Linked DNA regions of Homo sapiens: all the other regions are linked to region 1. The links are contacts of gene promoters, found by promoter capture Hi-C in human tissues and cell types (Jung and others, 2019). All regions are on one chromosome and are shown on one strand. Each heading gives the region's core, a stretch centred on a gene start or on the middle of the fragment in contact. The rest is flanking DNA. Distances are from core to core; before and after follow the strand shown. Region 1 holds the start of LRGUK (leucine rich repeats and guanylate kinase domain containing). Region 2 overlaps EXOC4 (exocyst complex component 4). Region 3 has its middle 45 kb from the start of SLC35B4.

Region 1 (2,569 bases), core at 70-2,569:
AAAACGATCGAGATTTGCATTTTTACACTTTCTGCCTGATTCTTCCCTATGTCACTTAGCCGAAGCCAGGCCCTACGAGGGTAAGGGTGGGGAAAATTCCCTTGGAGGAATCTCTACTTATTGGAAAAAGAAATAAGCAAAAAGCAAGATGAGCCTGGCAGAAAGAGATATTTTGCTTGTGGCCTTTACATTTATGACTAGCAAGATAATGAAGGAAGGTAATTCTGAAAGCTTTATGTCAGTTTTAACGGTCCCTCAAGCACTGAGAAAGATAATCGTCAATGGATGGTGTCCATAAGGATTTTTTCTCCTTCTCCCCTGACAGCCATTGACAGGATCATTTTGTATTTGCAACTGCTGTCATTGAAGCGTGCAGAAAAGGCCCTGTAAGGCCAGAAGGATGAGGGCTACTTCCCTGCAAGGATCTCTATTGTCATCACTATGGCAATAATAGTTACTATAATTTTCATTCTGCTTTTCTATAGAGTGTCGACGTTGTGGAGCTTAAGGCTATGGGATTTGGGTCACATAAAATCACACTAGCATAAAATCGTGCTTTGTTATCTTGAAAGAGTATTTTTTTTAACTGCAAAGAGAGCCTGTGCAACAAGATTAAAATAATTGCCAATGCAGGTCACTTGACTAATATAATTATTTATGGGATGCTAATAGCTTTTCAGACGCTTTCAGATACAGTGTCAATTTGACAGCAGTTTTTTCTCTCTCTGTTTGGATTGTAAGACCACTGCCAGTTTTTCTCCCCAAGGACAAGGCTTATCATTGGGGGGTGGGGGTGGGGAATGTAAATTAATTGGAAATCAGCTCTCAGGCGTCGTCTGGTAGTTTCTCTTTATTATCTGCAATTAAATCATAAGGACAGGAACCATGCCTTCTATTTCACTTATATGCACCCTCATCTCCTAGCGTCGCGCTTTGCATAAATTTCAGTGGTACTAGCTTTCCTACAGACTGCTTTAGAGACATTAGACACTTCTAAAGTACGACTCTGCGGAAAGAGCCCTTTGGGAATGAAGCGGCAACGGTGGCGCACCTGCGATCCTATCGTGGGATGACAAAGCTCTAAGAGGGGTCTCAGGGTAGGGAGGAAACAGCTGGAGACAAAGAAAGGGGGTGTAGCGAAAAGAGGTGAAAACAGGAAAGATAAGCGAACAGAACAGACCAAAGAGAGAAAAATAACAGAAGAGACTGAGAAAAAGAAAAGTCAAGTGGAGCGCCCACTGCCCCGCCTGCAGAAGGCGAGTACGCGCGGAGGAGACTACAGGCCCCAGAATCCTCCGCGGTTCCCCTTGCCTGGGGTCAGTCTCCTAGGCAACCCCGCTAAACAAGATGGCGACCTCCGAGAGGGCTCTCCTGAGGACCAGAGCTGCCTCTCTCCTGAGAGGCTTGGGCAGATCCCGAACTGGAGCCCGATCGTTACAGTTTCGCGCAGAAAAAGAGCGTCAGCCTTGCTGGTCTTTTCCCATGGGGCAGAAGACGAAAGGCAGCTCTAACATAGCCTCCTCCTACCTGCTCCAGCAGCTCATGCACCGCTATCAGGAGCTGGACTCGGACGGAGATGAGGACCAGGGCGAGGGCGAGGCGGGATCCGAGGAGTCCTCAGAGTCCGAAATGCTGAATTTGGAGGTGTGTCTTCCCCCCCACCCCGTACTCCCTGGCTCCCTCGTCCAGCCCTGTTACTTCAGCGGCAGCTCCCCGATGCACCCCCACCAGCCCGAAGCTTCCCACACCTTCTCAGGCTCTCTCGCCTCCAGGAACGCCTCTTCCCCCTCTTTTCTTCCCCTGTCTTTTACCCCGTTTTCTCACCCCCTGCCTGAAATAGCTCTAAATAGTTCCTTTCTTTTTTCATTAACACATTTGATTTCTTATGAGTCGAGTTAACACAGCGTCACTTTGTAAGAGTGTCTAGATAATTGTCTGGGAATTATGGCTTTAGCTTTTTCAAAATTATACTTTGACAGTATTGTGAATAGGCAGAGTTCATCTCTGACATTGCCAGCACCTGTTGCCCATGGCTATGACATACTTCCACACTCTTCCTCAGTTCTAGTCCCGTCAGCCTCCCTCCAGGAAAAAAAAAAAAAAAAAAATCCGCTTTTGAAAGTGCTTCTTCAAAGACTAAGTGACTTAAAAGTTGAATACATTACTTCTGTCGGGGGCATATGCCTTATACAAGCAACATGCACACACACCAGAAAAGAGCCTTATAATGTTCGAACAGCCAGCTCATTGTGGGAATATTTTAGGATGTGGGGAATGTTCCCATCATCCCACCCATATTGACTGGGATGGCGGCTTCGCGTTTCACATGACTGCCATTCCCTCCTTTCTACAATATCTCTTCTGACCACCACACAATTCCTCTTCTTTCTTATGCTTATTATGGTCCTTTTCCTTTCTTAGTCCATTGTTGTCTTCTTGTCCTTTTCCACTTCTCATCACATCACTTCTTTTCTCTTGGCTTCTAATAAATTGCTTTCTTTCAAAAGCGTAATTTAATTTGCTTCCTTTCTATTTTGTTTATGTTTTTGAGATGGAGTCTGGCTTTGTC
Region 2 (4,574 bases), core at 609-3,108, 150 kb before region 1:
GATTAATGTTAGATAGTGAACCAATATGATAGTTAGCACATGGAAAAGAATATGATGAGTGCCAGGAGCCAACATGGTTCACAAGAGGGAGAAAAACTATCATAGGTGCCCAAGGACTACTGAAAGAAAATGAACAGGCCTTACCATGGAAGAAACACGGGCACTATGCATATGTCCTTGTAGTTACCAGTCAGAGACCAAGTCTTGCCACAGTCTCAAATACCTTTGTTTGGTTTACAAATTGGTATGAATATGTATTTTTTTAACTTAGCTCTTATGTCCTAACAAATCAAGGTTTACCAGTATCAGCCCACTGTTTCTCTGAAAATCAAATTTGACTTAATCCAGCAAGGGAACATGCAAAACTTTAAGTTTCACTTTTTAAAAGTGAATGTTCTGATGAATGAGCCTTAGAACAAAGAGAGCTAAGCTTTTCTGCCTTGATAGGTGGTTCCTTCTCAATTTCATACCTTTAACCTAATTGCCAAAGGCTTGCTTGAGGCTTGGTGGTCTAACCTGTGGAGCCCAGAAATTGTAACACACTGAGTGTGCTCATGGGCATGGACTTTGTTTGGAAGATACATTCAGTCTTAAGCTGAAGCTTTTACAGAATAATTGAAAGCAGCTCCAAATTGAGTGACCTTGCTAAGAAGTCTGTTTTGGTGGGGTCTACATCTTTAACCTGGGATTCTAGAAAATAGTAGAGAAACCCATGGCATACTTTTCTAAAAAGTTAAAAAGTAAAATAGTCCTGTGAAACATTTTCTGAAAGGAATGTTGAATCTTCTTTGCAAGGGCATCTTGTGTGTGTTATTGAGAATAAGAGCAATTCATAATGTGTTCAGTATTCACTAAATCCAAAAAAAAAGATACTAGAGTTTATGTAGCAAAAATAATGAAGAGAAAGGAGAAAGCAAATCACTTGCTTCCAAATAAATATTATTTATATAGATTGTCCTCCCACTCGTCCTCAGCCTATAGGAACGGTGCCATAATTTGAATGTTTGACTTCTATCCCTGCCTTGGCTCACAGCTAGAGAGTGGAGTGCAGTAGGAACTTGTTTGCTGTGACCAAATCTTTCCTTTTCAAAGATAGTGGTTTGCGAGCAGCTGGTTTTTTCTTTGCTTTGGGTTGGTTTGTTTTGTTGTTGTGGTTTATTTGTTTGTTTTTGTGTGTGTGGTTTTTTGTTTGAGTTGGTTTTGTTGTTTTGTGTGTGTGTGTGTGTGTGTGTGTGTGTTTGTTTGTTTTAGCAGCAGAACCCTTTCTTCTAGCAGAATTTTACTGTAAAGTCTGAATTGGGTAACAAATCAAAGTGGAGCCTCTCTGACTAAGGAAGCAGGGAAGGCAAGATGGAGAGAATGGAGACTGAAAAATGTTAAATTGAATTAAGTTTGGCCCAAAGCTGCCTCTGTACATGTTTTAAGTTTGACCAAAAGGTTTCTTTGTACATAGTGAACTGTAACCTAACTTGATGTGCAAACAGACTAGAACTTACTCTTGTAACAGGTAGCTGAGTCTCAGCCAGTCACAGCAGCCAAGCTTCAGTCAGTGATAGGCAGCCAACTCTTCAACCCAGGTTCAAATGAGGCAAACACTGAGCTTTAACCAAGTATGCATCCTTTGTACATCCCTCCCGTTACATGTCACTTCCTTTTCTCTGGCTATAAATATAATCTACACATGTGGTAGAGCAGAGCATTCTGAACCATTTTTGGTCTGGGCTGCTGCACTATTCTAGAATCACAAATAAAAGCCAGTTGAGATCTACGTTTGTTGTAATTTGGTCTTTTAACAGAGATTAGGAACTCTGCAGGGCACTTTCCAAAAATCCTTGCCTTAGAGGTTGCAGCATTGCATTAAAGGTAGCCCAGAGATCCTTGGTGACCCTTCATCTCACTACTTCCTGGTCCAGTCTTCTCTGAGATTTAAAGTGCCATAGTTCAAAAATGTCTCAGGAGTAGAAGGTTACATTCATTCATCAAGGCTCAGTTGGGAGAACAGAAACCATTTTAGGTATTTCAAGCAAGAAGGAATTTAATGTAGGGAATACGATGTTTTAGAAATTGCTGAAAGGGCTTAGACAGCCGTTGGAAGGATACAAAAAGCAAGGAATCTAGCTGCTGCCTTTCAGGATAATCAGGAAATGCAGCCGGGGATTTCACCTTCCTGCTGCGAGGAAGCAGCTGTCTGCAGGAGCTCTTCTGGAAGCTGCTGCAAGCTTCTGATTTGCCAGCTGCCTGAGCATCTTTCTGCCACTGTAAGAAGAGAATCCTGCCTTCCCTTTCTTTTTGCCTTACACAGCTTTTGGGAGTACATCTCAATGGCAGAATCCAAACCCAAAACCCCTACTGGCAAGAAGTTGTAGATGTTCCTATGCTTCCAGGAAAGTGGCTAGAGGTGACACTGAGTTGACAACAGACAAAGCACAAGGGTATGTTCCCATTTCACTCTGTACAGTAAATTTAGTCTAGAGTAATAGGAAGGTGAACGTATTTCCAAGAAAGCAGATAAAATAACAAGTCTCCTGTGGTAGTAAATATAAAAAGCATCTTTCCAAAATAATCCTGATTCAGCTGTTTTAAGCCTTAGTGGAAAACCTGATTTGTCAGTGTTTTTATGTATATATTAAAATAATTTATAATCCAATTTCTGTCTCTTCAGGTGAATATAACACAATTTCTATCATTTGAGGTCAAAACTTCATAGGTATCATAATGGCTGTTTAGATTCAGAATCATTACTGTCTTACCTTTACCACCAGGTAAAGGTAATCACACTTGAGTGTGATTACACTCAAGTAATCTTCTTCCCTTCTCATAGTGCCTCTTTGGTAGAAAGGAAATAAACGGCGGTCAGGAAATAAATGCTGACTCCAGGCCCTGTTTGAGTAAGGCAGACATGATCTCTCAATCACATGAACAATTTACAGGCTTTGGTGAATATTCTTTGAATTCCTAAAATAACCCCTAAGTTGCGGCTGGGTGCGGTGGCTCACGCCTGTAATCCCAGCACTTTGGGAGGCCCAGGCAGGTGGATCACAAGGTCAAGAGATCGAGATCATCCTGGCTAACATGGCAAAACCCTGTCTCTACCAAAAATACAAAAAAATTAGCCGGGCATGGTGGCGGGCGCCTGTAGTCCCAGCTACTCGGGAGGCTGAGGCAGGAGAATGGCGTGAACCTGGGAGGCGGAGCTTGCAGTGAGCCGAGATCGCACCACTGCACTCCAGCCTGGGCGACAGAGCGAGACTCCATCTCAAAAAAAAAGAAAAAAAAACCCTAAATTGCCTTCGTTAAAGAACCTAGCTTGGCAGACATCCTTTCCTTGGAAAGGGAGATGCCTGTCATTCTTCAAAATAATGTTAAAAACACTGATTTATCTCCTCCCACGCTGCTCCTCAACATCATTCCTGGCTTTCCTACCAATCTACCACCTACCTCATGCCTGAAGGCCATCTCTACCACTGAACTGGCGACTGGAGAAAGGCATTCTCCCCTTTTTATGTATGAAAAGATAAAATTTGAACCTGCCCTCTGCCTTAATCCCTTTTCTCTCCTGCGTATTTTCACTAATTTAAACATTGCCAGAATCCTGTGCTGTTCTCATACTTCTATGATGCCTTATTTTAAGTTCAAAATGTCATGATCTTACCCAGTGTGTATGTTTAATGGATTAATGTATCATTTTCTTTCTGGCCATTAGCCACATGAACAACTAGGCCCACAGCTGTCAGATTTCTTGCAAGGTTTTTCGAGGAGTGAGAGGATGAGTCTAGGAATCTCACTCTTCCAGGATCCTCACCAGGGGGTTCAATAAAGATCACTTCAATGTGCTGAGCACTTACTGTGTGCCGAAGGTTGTTCTAAATGCTTCATGTGTTTTATATCATTGAATCCTTACAATGACCCTTTGAGGCTGAAAATGTAGTCACTTCAATAAACAGGTTTAACGATTTCCCCAAGGTTATCCAGTTAGTAAGTGGTTGAATCATAATGTAACTACTACTTTCTGGGCCAATCAAAAAGAAATGGTTGTCAATCCAAAAGAAGTGTTGTATGTAAGAATTTGGTTCTTAGTTAATAGGAGAATACTCATATCCTTTTACTTAGCGAAAAATATTTAGATTTTGAAGTAATATCCTGAAATTGTGTAGTCAACTGATAGAGATGATTGCTTCTCCATGTAGCTTACTCTCAACTGGCATAAACACAGATTGATTATTAATCTTTTACTTTTTAAAAATTGATTCTGGAAGCATCTATATGAACTGTTAATTATTCTAGGGATTATGTGGCAAAACTGGAATGGATGTGTGAATAGTATTCATGTGTTACTAACGTATAAAGACAGAAATATAGTCATATATTATTAACCTTCACAAAGCATTAGTCAATATGTGTATCACACCACCTCATCAATCAGCCTGCACAGGGACTGTCTGACACCAGACAGATTAAAGGGGAGGTACTTAACTATTATCTTCACCCCATGCTGAGAGGTGGCCACACTTGTCCTCACTGAGTAGAAATTGTCTTAGCAAGATTTACACCTGCAAAGTCTGTACCATGTGTCA
Region 3 (4,688 bases), core at 400-2,899, 230 kb after region 1:
GATCACTCACTTAGAGGGAAATGTTAAATAAATGCACTCATGCATGTGTGCACCCACCTGTACACATGCACACAAAGAGACCTTGGAAAGCCACAGATAAATGGACTAAGATAAGTAAAGTAGCTTTGTTTGAACTTAGCACAGCTGGCAGGTTCTAGGCATGGCGGATAAGCAGGGACAGCCAGAAGGACTTGGCAATCTTCTTATCCCTCCTCCAAGGTGCAGCCCCTTTCTCTTATCTTTTTTCCACAGAAAGCCAAGAGGGCTTCAGAGGAGGTCCCTCCTGCCCAGAACATTTCAGACTTTTAAATGATGCCTTCTTGGTGAGCTAAAGAGGTGGCCACATGTGCTGCCAGCTGTCTCTGGTCCTAGTAAATCCAGTCTGAGCCTGGGGTGATCAAGGCCACGTGCAACAAAACCTCAGCTAATATGTCGTGACCTGGCATAGTCCTGGCAAACAGACCTTTGGGCCTGTGTGGGTCACTGGCAGAGGGTCTTGGCGAGCTGGGGCCTCTGCTGACCTTGGCCGCTGTTTGGTCTAAGAGAGCTGAGAGCCCCAGGCTTGTAGGTTTTTTTCCTTTATTGTGGTAAAATATATATAACATAAAATTCACCATTTTAGCCATTTTCAGCATACAATTTAGTAGCATTAGGTACATTCACAATGCTGTGCAGTTATCATCACTATCCATTTCCAGAGCTATTTTCATCTTCTCAAACTGAAATTCTGCTCCTATTAAGCAGAAACTCCCCTCATTCCTGCTTCCCCACAACCCCGGGAAACTCCATTGTACTTTCTGTCTCTTAAGGGTTTGCCTATTCTGAGGATGCCATATGAATGGTATCATGCAATATTTGTCTGTTTGTGATTGGCTTATTTCATTTAGCATAACATCTTCAAGTTTCATCCATGTTGTAGCATGTGTCAGAATGTCATTACTTACTGAGGCTGAATCCTCTTCCATTGTTTGTATATATCACATTTTGTTTATCCATTCTTCTATTAATGGACATTTGGTTTTTTCCCACCTTTTAGCTAATGTGAATAACGCTGTACAAGTATCTATTTGATCCCCTGCTTTCAATTCTTTGGGGTCCATACAGGACTGCTTGATCATATGGTAATTTTAGGTCTCACTTTTTTGAGAAACGGATACAGTGTTTTCCATCTGCAGAGGCTGCAACATTTTACATTCTCACAAGCAATATATGAGGATTTCAATTTCTCTACATCCTTGCCAACATTTATTTTCTGTTGTTGTTTTTCTAATAACTGTCCTAAGTGTGTGAGGTTTGTGGGTTTTTATTCTTTCCCCCTTGTCTCTTTCTCAGTGTCTCAGATTTCAGGAGAACTGTGACCCATGCAGGGGGTTTGAGTCCCGGTGAAAGTGGAGACCCTGTCATCCTGAGAATCATCCCCAGGGGGAAACCATCTTTTTCTAAGGCGGAATTTCTCAACGGTGGAACTACTGACATTTTGGACCAGGTACTTCTTTCTCGTCCTGTGCACTGTAGCAGCGGTCCCCAACCTTTTTGGCACCAGGGATCAGTTTTGGGGAAGACAATTTTTCCGTGGACCAGTGGGGCGGGATGGTTTTGGGATGATTCAAGCGCACTGCATTTATTGTACACTTTCTTTGTATTGTTATTACATTGTCATGTATAATGAAATAATTATACAACTCACCACAATGTAGAATCAGTGGGAGCCCTAAGCTTGTTTTCCTGCAACTAGATGGTCCCATCCGGGGGTGATTGGGAGACGGTGATAGATCATCAGGCATTAGAGTCTCATAAGGAGCGTGCAGCCTAGATCCCTTGCATGTGCAGTTCATAACCGCGTTCATGATCCTGTGAGAATATGAGAATCTAATGCCACGGCTGATCTGATAGGAGATGGAGCTCAGGCAGTAATGCAAGTGATGGGGAGTGGCTGCAAATACAGATGAAGCTTCGCAGCCTCGCCCACTGCTCACCTCCTGCTATGTGGCCCAGTTCTGGTCCATAGCCTGTTAGGTACCATGGTACCTGAGGACCCCTGCACTGTAAGATGTTTAGCAGCATCACTGGCCTCTACACACCAGATGCACACCTGCCCAGTCATGATAATCAAACGTGTCTCCAGACATTGCCAAATGCCATACCAGCCCCCAGCTGAGGACCACTGTTCTAAGTCCTGACTAGCTAGAGTCAGCTCAGCATATCAAGAGGAAGGGGCTGTCCCAGATCCCGGGAGCTAAGCTTTATGTGCTCCAGTTCCAATTTCCTCAGCATCTCAGTTTAGTTTAGTGTCTTCCCTCCATCATCTAAAAGTTGAGTTCAAATAGAGCTAATTTGTTGCCAGGGCACAGAAGACTGGAGTAAATGTTTGTGCAGTACCAGTAGGGGGGCACTGTTGATCAAGAAAGGCTCAAGATGGAAGGGGTGTGTATGTGTACATGTATGTGTGTGTGTGTGTGTGTGTGTGTTTGCGGGCTTGAGAGGGGAAGCTTTAAATGAGCAGTTGGTGCTCAAAACACTCAGGTTCTTATACCTTAAAACTACTGATAATCCAACACCAGCCTCACCCCATCCATGCTCCCCATACTGGCATCAACCACACTCTTTTCATGGTACAGGCTGTCTTTCTGTGACATCTGCCTCCCTTCAAGGCTGATCTTGAAGCCCACAGTGAAATTTCACCAATGGAATAGAAATGCTCAATCTAAAATACCTCAGGAGCATTTTCCCTCAACCCTACCAAGTCTACAGACCTCCTAGATATACAGCCCCGACCACACTGTCTGATTTCGAAGGACGGTAGCACCAGATGTTCCACATCTGTCTGCAGCCATGTGCTTTACTGACAATCAGGATCCATTTCCACCTCCTGCTGATCTCCCCTCAACATTGCAAGAGAGGAGAAGCCCCAAACTGCCCTCCCATATTTCTTAGAGTCGGGATCCTGGTACAGTTGAGATGGTGCCATTGAGCTGAATTTGCTGGAGCAATAGAGAAGCAGGCAGAGGCCATCTGCCTACACTGTGGCTGTTGGAAGCAAGGTCAGTCAGTGACGAATGTTTGTGGTGGCTCAACTCCATGTCTAGGTGTCTGGTCCTCACTTCAGTGGTGTGAGGCAATTGCGTGGTGCCTCACACGATTGTGTGATGTAATAACAGTTCCCTGAGTTATGGATCACAGCTAGGGTAATTTGATCTAGAAACCAATCATCCAAAGGTGACCGCTTTGCTTCTGCTTGCCCAGTGATTATAGGGGTGCCTGATTCCCTATCTTCAATCACTTTCAGCTAGAGTCCTTCTATTTCTTGCATCAGCCCCTGGCTGACGCAATACTGTTTGCTCACACACACATACACACATCCTAACATGGCCCAATCTCCCTTCTCATGCTGCTTATTCAAATTTGGGAATTAGTTATTGATCTGAGGGGTAGAATAGGCTAAGTGCTGCCGGGAGTTGACATCCAAAAGACTCTGTATTGATCTTGTCTCAGGAAAATAGACTCTGACATTCAGGGACAACACCCACAGAACAATACAAAGTCAATAAGTGAATAAATAGTTGCTAAGTTGTGCTGTGTTGAATACCACCAATGGCTCTAGGCAGTCAAAAGGTATGGGATCGATGGAGTTACTTCATTCATACAGGTTTGACCTAGTCTTGAAGGACAGGTCAACCCTGGGTAGGTGAGGAGAAAGGAAGTGGTAGGCAGGTATGAGAAGGGGCAGAGGCAGAGAGTGCTGTCTGTAAGGGTCAAAATCCTGGATTGATGTCCTCACTCTGCCACCTCTTCTAGTGGGGTCAATGATTTGACCTCTGAGAACCCCATTTACTGCATTTGAAAAACATGAAAATCCTGCGGGGTCATTGTGATGATCAAATGAGATTTAAAAAAATCTATCTGAACCTATACACCTGCATCTATCTCTACCTATAGAGATAAATATCTATTCTCTGGATATCATAATATGCTGCACAGATAGAGACTAGATCTTCTCTGTTTGCCCCTGGAGACCCAGTGCCTCACTTCTGGGCCCTGCTCTGACCCTGGGAAGCTGGTGTGAGTGAACAGCCTCCAGGGGTTCTCTCATCCTCTCACTTCTGGGTGGGTTCAGCCAGTGGGAGGTTTCCACAGGAGAATGGAGGGTGAGAGGAAAGAGGTCAGGCTTATTTCCCTGGTTCATCCCTTCCTGCCATACCATGTTCCTCTACCCAAGACCACAGCTTCTGGCCAGACCTGTCTGTCCCCTGGAGCTAGAGCTAGATCTCCATCTAGGTTTTAGGAACCGCTTCAGGTCTCAGGCAATAATGGCTCCCACCGTTGCTAGTTCTGAGGTCCTGCTCCATCCCTTGCTGGCTCCCTATACTCTGCCCACACCACTGTACATAGTCCCTGTAATGAATTGTCTTTGAACATCCCTTTGGAATGTGTCTGTTTCTTGCCATGATTCTGGTTGATAGAAAATAGAAGCTGCTGTGTTCAAATTGTCCTCTCTCCTAGGAATCTGTAATGGTCCCTTGTTGTTTAATAAGGCCAAGACTAAATTCATTTTAATAGCATAAAAATACAATTAAGAAAGTAAATCCATATTATGTGATTTACAGATTATCCTATTACTGCTCCAGGCAGCCATGTGCATAATGGAGATGTTAAGCCTGAGATTGGGCATGGGGGTCAGTGGGCGTGGC

What was found. The method cuts DNA at HindIII sites, captures the fragments that hold promoters and counts their contacts. A contact is called where the count stands out against the background at its distance.
Region 2: a contact is called between a fragment that was not itself captured here and the fragment with the promoter of LRGUK in region 1, in 2 of the 25 tissues and cell types used here (H1 embryonic stem cells and dorsolateral prefrontal cortex).
Region 3: a contact is called between a fragment that was not itself captured here and the fragment with the promoter of LRGUK in region 1, in 1 of the 25 tissues and cell types used here (H1 embryonic stem cells).

Annotation. Positions count from the first base shown.
Region 1 is chr7:134,126,021-134,128,589 of GRCh38, forward strand. LRGUK (leucine rich repeats and guanylate kinase domain containing) reads left to right here and starts at 1,320. Exons shown (of 20, transcript NM_144648.3): 1 at 1,320-1,644. The coding sequence starts at 1,348. RefSeq lists enhancers at 1,173-1,222, 1,333-1,602. The HindIII fragment of the contact is 8,230 bases long and covers 1-2,569 here.
Region 2 is chr7:133,976,530-133,981,103 of GRCh38, forward strand. All of the region lies in intron 14 of EXOC4 (exocyst complex component 4), which reads left to right. Among named protein-coding and RNA genes, the nearest start is that of LRGUK, 150 kb to the right of the region's middle. The HindIII fragment of the contact is 5,052 bases long and covers 1-4,384 here.
Region 3 is chr7:134,359,786-134,364,473 of GRCh38, forward strand. No RefSeq gene overlaps it. Among named protein-coding and RNA genes, the nearest start is that of SLC35B4, 45 kb to the left of the region's middle. The HindIII fragment of the contact is 4,550 bases long and covers 1-3,924 here.